Linked DNA regions of Homo sapiens: regions 2 and 3 are each linked to region 1. Evidence: promoter capture Hi-C in human tissues and cell types (Jung and others, 2019). All regions are on one chromosome and are shown on one strand. The core of a region is centred on a gene start or on the middle of the fragment in contact, and the rest is flanking DNA. Distances in the headings are between cores, read along the strand shown. Region 1 holds the start of MYPOP (Myb related transcription factor, partner of profilin). Region 2 overlaps LOC105372424 (a long non-coding RNA gene). Region 3 has its middle 25 kb from the start of IGFL1.

The links. Contacts are between HindIII fragments. The study calls those that stand out against the background at their distance.
Region 2: a contact is called between a fragment that was not itself captured here and the fragment with the promoter of MYPOP in region 1, in 2 of the 25 tissues and cell types used here (lymphoblastoid cells and mesendoderm cells).
Region 3: a contact is called between a fragment that was not itself captured here and the fragment with the promoter of MYPOP in region 1, in 1 of the 25 tissues and cell types used here (lymphoblastoid cells).

Annotation. Positions count from the first base shown.
Region 1 is chr19:45,901,187-45,903,886 of GRCh38, forward strand. MYPOP (Myb related transcription factor, partner of profilin) reads right to left here and starts at 1,427. Exons shown (of 3, transcript NM_001012643.4): 1 at 1,384-1,427; 2 at 89-639. The coding sequence starts at 587. RefSeq lists enhancers at 1,190-1,239, 1,670-1,779 and silencers at 1,430-1,479, 2,040-2,119. The HindIII fragment of the contact is 9,891 bases long and covers 1-2,700 here.
Region 2 is chr19:46,170,547-46,173,246 of GRCh38, forward strand. All of the region lies in intron 4 of LOC105372424 (a long non-coding RNA gene), which reads right to left. It also overlaps a transcript of IGFL2 not described here. Among named protein-coding and RNA genes, the nearest start is that of IGFL2, 24 kb to the left of the region's middle. RefSeq lists an enhancer at 86-636. The HindIII fragment of the contact is 4,773 bases long and covers 1-2,700 here.
Region 3 is chr19:46,253,479-46,256,178 of GRCh38, forward strand. No RefSeq gene overlaps it. Among named protein-coding and RNA genes, the nearest start is that of IGFL1, 25 kb to the left of the region's middle. The HindIII fragment of the contact is 4,943 bases long and covers 1-2,700 here.

The sequences.
Region 1 (2,700 bases), core at 177-2,676:
CACCTCACAGGGCTGCAGCAAGGCTTTGATGAGACATGTAAAAGGCTTGCAACAGCGCAGGCACACAGCCTACTCTGAAGACACTCACCTGCACGTCGGTCCTCCCGGCGGTCTTCCGACAACACGTAGCGCTGAGGGCAGGCGCTTGGGGGCGGCGGCTGTGAAGAGGGGGCCGCAGGGGGCTCCTCCGCCCCAGCACCTGCCCCCGGCGCCGCCACACCTGGCCCCAGGATGGCAAAAATGGTCTCCTCTTCCGCGGAGAAAGCGTCCTCCGCGGCGGGCCCGGCGCCCTGCGTGGAGTGCGGCACGCGAGCGAGCTTCTCCTTGGTGCGGCGCTTGAAGTCGTTCCAGCGCTTCTGCACCTCCTGGCCCGTGCGCTTCCAGCTGGTGATACCGTTGATCTTGGCGGCGATGCCGTCCCACACGCGCCGCCGCTCTGCCACGCTCACCCGACGGCTCTGCGCGCCGTAGAGCTGCGGGTAGTGGGCGCGCACCTCGCGGATCAGGATCTGGTTCTCTTCGAATGAGAAGCGCGGCTTGCGCAACCGGGTGGTTTCCTCCGCTTCGCCCGCCGCCGCCGAGGCCATGGCGCCCCCCGACGCCGCCGTCCTGCCGTCTGGCGCATGGGGGGCGCCGGCGCTGCGGGCAAAGGGCGCACGGGGCTGGCTGGGGTTCGGGGTCCCCCCGCCGCCGCCTCTCCCAGACCGCCGGGCCGAGAGCTCCTTAGTCCCCGGGGGCAGGAGTGGGGGCGGGGGGCGGGCGGGGGCGACGGGCACCCGGGTAAGTCGGAAGCGCCTAAGAGTAGCTGACACCGGCTGAGCGCTTGGCTCGGACTTCGCGCGGCGCGAAGTGCCACGCTGAAGAGTTGATAGAAATTGGGGGAGGGTCTGGAGGGATGGAAGGAAAGGAGGAAAAGTGCGAGGAGAGGAGGTGTCTGCAGGAGTTAGAGAATGGGGGCACGGGAGGATAGGAAATGGAGGGAGGATGGGGGTGCCTCGGGGGGGTCTTAGATGCATGAAGATAAGGAGATGCGGAAGGGGGGATGCAGCAAGAAGGGGGGAATCTGGAGCAGAGGAGGCGCTCTAGGGGCTCTAGGGGGCAACGGGGCGTCTGTAAGACCGATATGAGAAGGGCCCTTAGAGGGATGTCCAGGAATAATGGTGAGGTGGGAGCTCCTGTATCACTGGAAGAGCTGGAACGATCAAATATTAGGGATCAGGGTCTGCGAGGATTGTGGGGGCTCTGGGGATTGCCAGAAATTAAGGGGAGCTCTGGAAATAACGGGGGTCCCGTATCACAAGGAGACAACGGAGGCTACGGGGGACGGCAGGGAGAGCGAAGGTCGCGGAGGGTGGGGACCGAGTCGGGCCACGGGTCACTCACCGGCTCCGCCGCAGCCGCCGGTGGGTCAGGGCTCGGGCTTCTGCGGCCTGTTCCCACCCCCCGCCTCCCTCCCTCCCCTCTTTCGGCCCCGCCTCCGGCCGCCCCGCATGCCAAGGCGCAGGCGCGCCCAGGGCCAGTCGGCCCCAATGCCCTTACCGCCAGGGTTTCATTCCCACCTACCCCAGCACAGCGCAGGCGCAGAACTGCGCTCCGCCGAGCCCCACCAGCAGGCCGCAACTGCGCAGCCGCAACGTTAGCGCCGCGCGGGTACCCCAGCTTCCTGGGGCCACAACGGCGCACGCGCAAAAACTCCATCGCGCGCATGCGCGTGCCTCGGGTTGTACCCGGTACCGGGTCTCGGCGCAGGCGTTGCGAGCTTGGATGGGAGAGATGCTGGGAGCGCGCCAGTACCCAACCTTTCGGACAGTCTTCCAGCCCACCCTGCCCTCTAACCAAAGGGGAGGGAGACAGCGCTGAAGGGAAGCGCTTTGTCTCCTTGACAACTGTGTGGGTGGGGTGGAGGCGTGAGGAAACCGCTTTGCCTCCTGGCTTGCCCGCCCCTGCGCTGGGCCGCTCCAGAGCTTCCCACCTCGCACCCCTAGAGGCTGGGCGTCCTGGGGATGTCCCGCCCCGGGCGGATGCAGTAACCATAGCGACCCACAAGCCTTCCAGTCACGCCTTGGGGGCCCCTCTGTGCGCACCTTTACCTCGAGGAGCGGGGAAAATAAGAGGGAAGAGCTTCCTGGCTGGTAGGAAGGGAGATCCTGACGCCGGCACGACTTTAAGCAAGTGCATGGAGACAGGAATGAAGCCAGAACGCAGGTGGGGTGAGCCGCATGGCAGGATGATGGAGCTCAGTCCGGCTGAGAAGTGTGTTCGTTAGCATCCTGCAGGAGTCCTCAAGGTCATTCGACAATTGGTGCTTCATTCATCGACTCAATAAATATACATGAGCACTTACACAGTTCCTGGTACAATGAACATAAAAGCTAAAATCCGTAGCCTGGGCCGGGCGCGGTGGAGCTCACGCCTGTAATCCCAGCACTTTGGGAAGCCAAGGCGGGCGGATTACCTGAGGTCAGGGGTTCGAGACAAGCCTGGCCAACACAGTGAAACCCCATCTCTACTGAAAATACAAAAACTAGCTGGGCATGGTGGTGCATGCCTGTAATCCCAGCTACTCGGGAGGCTGAGGCACGAGAATCGCTTAACCCCGGGAGGCAGAGGTTGCAGTGAGCTGAGATTGCACCACTGCACTCCACCTGGACGACAGAGTGAGACTCCGTCTCAAAAAAAAAAAAAAAAAAAATACATGCC
Region 2 (2,700 bases), core at 68-2,567, 270 kb after region 1:
AAGTCTGGCTGCCTGTGGGCTGGGCAGGACAGAGCCATATTTCTCTTATTACGGAAAACAGGTAAGAGAAATATTGCTGAATTCTTTTCCCAGTAAGGAATATTAATAATTAACAGCCCTGGGAAAATAATGCCTTCCCAGGGGGGCCTCTAAAATGGCCACTCTGGGGGTGTCTGCCTTATGCAGTTGCAGATAAGGGATGAAACATGCTCTGGCCTCCTGCAGCACCCCCAGGCTTGCTAGGATTAGGAAATTCCAGCCTGGCGAATTCTAGTCAGACCAGTTCTCTGCTCTTGAACCCTGTTAAGATGTTTATCAATGACAATGTGTGCACGGCGGGACATGAAACTTCATTAGTGATTTTAGTTTCACCCTGACCTTGTGATCTCGCCCTGACCTTCTGCCCTTGTGATCTTTTGTCGCCCTTGAAGCATGTGATCTCTGTGACCCACACCCTATTCGTACACTCCTTCCCCTTTGAAAATTGCTAATAAAACCCTATTTGTACACTCCCTCCCCTTTGAAAATTGCTAATAAAAACTTGCTGGTTTTATGGCTCAGGGGGCATCATGGAACCTGCCGACCTGTGATGTCTTCCCCAGACACCAAGCTTTACCATTTCTTTCTTTTGTACTCTTTCGCTTTATTTCTCAGACTGGCCGACACTTAGGGAAAACAGAAAAGAACCTACGTTGAATTATCGGGGGCTGCTTCCCCCGATAAGTGATAGCCTGAATGAGTCACTTTCTGGGTCAAGAGCCAGGAGCTAAGTCAAGGGGAGTCAGCCAGAGGGAGGTGCTATTCAAGACGAGATTATGGGTGGGGTTCAGATTGACAGAGAGAAGAAGCTATTGGGCAAGAGTGGTGACTTGCTCACTCAGATGAGTTCGAAGATAATCTCTACTGATAAAACAATCAAACTTAGACCATACCATTCATGGAATGACATGGAGATGCACATTTCAGAGTATTGTGTCTTATTTTTCTCTATCTCCATTTTCTGTCAGGGCAAATTAACTCTGAGTACAATTTACAACTGCCTTCTCTTCCTTGGACTCAGCATAGCTCTCAGCAGTCTCCTGTCTTATAGGGACAGCCTGCTGTTTCTCATATTCCATAGGTCTAGTCTATTGTTGACTTACCCAACCTCTCAAGGAGAAAATGCGAGTACACTTACTTTATCTTTTGATAACTCCCTTCTTGAACTCCCCATCAGTATGAAGCTCACCCTGTTGAATGGCCTAGATGGAGGATATTACAAGGAACCAAAAGGACATTCAGGAAAAGTGAGAATTTTTTTTACCAAGTGATAAGTTTTATAAGAATGAAAAGTGGGTGCCGTACAGGTAAAATTGGTGCAAATAATATATTGTTACACCAAAAGGAATTTGAAGCTCTGAAGAACTTTCACCAGGAATCTGAATTGCAAAAAAAAAATTATGTGTGATGAAGATTAATGATAGAAACATCCCTAATTCAAAAGGTCTTATTTTTGCTTTGGATTAAGCATGCAAAAATCTGGAGTAGTCCTTGGCAGGAAGTGTTCTTGCTGTTGACTCCAGAGATACGGACTTTGGAAGTGGAAGCCATTAACCTGGATGTAACTGAATGGTTATATAGTCTAAGGTAGAAGAAATCGTGTAAAGCCTGATAGTAAAAAGTGGCAAATTGTCCTGATTATCAAGGGGGGAATTGGGTAGTTACTACACAATCGGCAGAAGAGAGTATAACTATACCACTCACACAAGGCATTCTGTGGGATGCCTCTTAGAACTCCCACGTCCCATTGTAAAACATGGGAAAATGATAATAATCCATTACAGGAAGGACTCCTGAGGGAATGTATACTTCATGAAGACGTGAGTAACTTCACCAGGTTAAAAAATCACAGCCAGTTGAGGTGTTTGCTGAGAGCATAGGGATTATGGAATGGATAGTGGAAGAAATTTTTTTTCAGGTGGAGTTCTGTTACGTTCCCCAGGCTGGTCTTGAACTCCGGAACTCAAATGAGCCTCCCACCTCAGCCACCTGAGTAGCTGGGATTACAGGCATGTGCCACTGTGTCTAACTTGAAAGAGGAAATTTTTAAATGCCAGCTTTAGCCTCAAGGCCAGCTGCTGAAACAAGGACTAAGTTAGATATTTATATAATCTTCCTCACTTTGATGTGTATATATATATATTTTTTTTCAGACAAGGTCTCGCTCTGTCATGTAGACTGGAGTGCAGTGGTGCGATCTTGGCTCACTGTAACCTTCACTTTCCAGGTTCATGCAATCCTACCACCTCAGCCCTCTGAGTAGCTCTACAGACATGTGCCACCATGCCCAGCTGATGTGAATATAGTTTCTGTATTAACTGAGTCCTCTGCTTTTTGTCTCAGTGCCTTCATACCCCTCTATGTAATATAGGTTTATATTGGTTGATCCTTGGTATTTATAGCATGAAAGAGCAAAAGGGGTTGTTAGTCATCTGGGAGACGGACTAGCATTTTCAAATATCTCTTCCATAGAGAAGATTAAAGGTCTTTGGGTTGTAAAATGAATAGTTGCATCACATTAGGTGGAAAATAGTATTGTTGCTGCTTTTATTTGGAAGTTGAAAATGTCTACAGATGCTTATTTTTGAATGGGGTGGACTGTGCTAGACTTTCTGTTGTCAACGTGTCCCCAACACCACTGTTCCTTCTGAAGTGGGAACC
Region 3 (2,700 bases), core at 123-2,622, 350 kb after region 1:
CCAGTCTTTACTAAAAATACAAAAATTAGCTGGGTGTGGTGGTGGGCACCTGTAATCCCAGATGCTCGGGAGGCTGAGGCAGAAGAATCACTTGAACCTGGAAGGCAGAGGCTGCAGTGAGCTGAGACGGTGCCACTGCACTCCGGCCTGGGATATTGAGCGAGACTTCAACTTAAAAAAAAAAAAAATTTCTTGCATTTCTATACACTAACAATGAACAAGCCAAAAAGGAAATTAAGAAAACTACCTCATTTATAATACCATCAAAAAGAATAAAGTGCTTCAGGCCAGGCATGGTGGCTCACGCCTGTAATCCCAGCACTTTGGCAGGCTGAGGCAGGTGGATCACTTGAGGTCAGGAGTTCAAGACCAGCCTGGTCAACATGGTGAAACCCCGTCTCTACTAAAAATATGAAAATTAGCCGGGCATGGTGACGCTCGCCTGTAATCCTAGCTACTCCAGAGGCTGAGGCAAGAGAATTGCTTGAACCCAGGAGGGGGAGGTTACAGTGTGCCAAGATCATGCCACTGCACTCCAGCCTGGGCCACAGAGCAAGACTCTGTCTCAAAAAATAAAAATAAAAAAAGAATAAAATAATTCAGAATAAACTTAACCAAGAGAGCAAATGACTTGTATAGTGCAAACTACAAAACATTGTTGAAAAAAAGTAATGAAGACACAAATAAATGGAAAGACAGTCTGTGTTCATGGGTTGGAAGATTTAATATTGTAACAATGTCCATACTACCCAAAGTGATCTACAGCTTCAAAGCAATCTCTATCAAAATCTCAATGACAATTTTGCAGAAGCAGAAAAAATCCTAAAATTCGCATGGACTCTTAAGGGACCCTGAATAGACAAAATAATTTTGAAAAATAAAGAACAGGCCAGGCGCGGTGGCTCACGCCTGTAATCCCAACACTTTGGGAGGCCAAGGCAGGCGGATCACAAGGTCAGGAGATCGAGACCATCCTGGCTAACACAGCGAAACCCTGTCTTTACTAAAAAAAATACAAAAAATTAGCTGGGCATGGTGGTGGCCACATGTAGTCCCAGCTACTTGGGAGGCTGAGGCAGGAGAATGGTGTGAACCTGGAAGGCGGAGCTTGCAGTGAGCCGAGATCGCGCCACTGCACTCCAACCTGGGCAACAGAGCGAGACTCCATCTCAAAAAAAAAAAAAAAAAAATGAAGTTGGACCCTTATCTCTAACCATACACAAGAATTAGTTCAAAAAACTAATGAGATCCAAGGCCTAAATGCAAAAGTTAAAACTATAAAGCTCTTAGAAGAATACATAGGGAGAAAGCTTCCTGACATTGGACTTGGCAGATTTCTTGGATGTGACACCAAAAGTCCAGGCAAAATAGTAAACACCAATAAATTGAACTCCATCAAAGTCAGAAAGAAGAACAAACTTCAGGGCCATGTGTTGTGGGCATTTACCATGCCCTACAGGAATAGCCACAAACTTGATGATTCACTTTTAGGCAACAGATCTGGTTCCTTGGTTAACCAGTCCGGTTTCTTTAGCTTCCTTCCTTCCTGGAGGTTTTCCTATTCCGTTGTTAAGTGGGGCCAATGCCAAAAAGAAATTAGGGCAATCCCTGCTAGAGTATCTATCACCTTAATAGATTTCCTACTCCTACCAATTACTCAGGACGCAGATTCTTTGAGAAAGTTTCTCCTCCTTCCGAGACAAAATTTTACACATTAATATGTCTTATGCTACTTGCTGTTGCACATATCACTAATTGAAATGATACATTAATTTGCATAATTTGCTCATTTCTGTGCCTTCTTCTCTAGGCCGTGAGCTCCAGGGTGAAAGACTGAAGGCTCTTCCTCCAAGATCAGGAACAAGACAAAGAGACCTGCTTCTACCACTGCTATTTAACATTGTACTGGAGGTGCTAGCCAGAACCTTTAGAAAAAAAAAAAGAAAAGAAAAGAATTAAAAGCATCCAGAGAGAAAAGGAGGAGGAAGAAGAGGAGGAGGAGGTGAAACTGATGATAAAAACCCATCCAAGAATGTAAATGTGACATCTGCAGCAGGTTCAAATCTAAGCTATAAGACAAACGGAATCCTTCGTAAGGACTGTCATCTATTATGCACAGAGAGCCGAAATCCATTACTGAAATTCTCTTGGTGAGCCACCTGATGGGCCCAGTGACGTACTAGTACACACAGGAGTTGAAACAAAAAAAAGTCTGGCATATTCTTTGGATGACTGGCAGAGTGTGACACCAATATGGTACCCAGCCCTACTATCATTACAAGGACTTCATGACCAAAAAAATAATAGAGAATTGTTTTGGTGGTTAAAACAATTAAAAGCATCCAAATTGGAAAGGAAGAGGTAAAAGCATCTCTATTCACAGAAACATAATCTTATTTATAGAAAACACTAAACCTTCCACACACACACACCCCAAATAAAACACCTGTTAGAATTAACAAACAAGGCCGGGCGCAGTGGCTCACGCCTGTAATCCCAGCACTTTGAGAGGTCGAGGTGAGTGAATCACCTGAGGTCAGGAGTTCAAGACCAGTCTGGCCAACATGGCAAAACCCCGTCTCTACTATATACAAAAAATTAGCGGGGTGTGGTGGTACGCACCTGTAATCAAAGCTACTCAGGAGATGAAGGCAGGAGGATCGCTTGAACCTGGGAGACAGAGGTTGCAGTGAGCCGAGA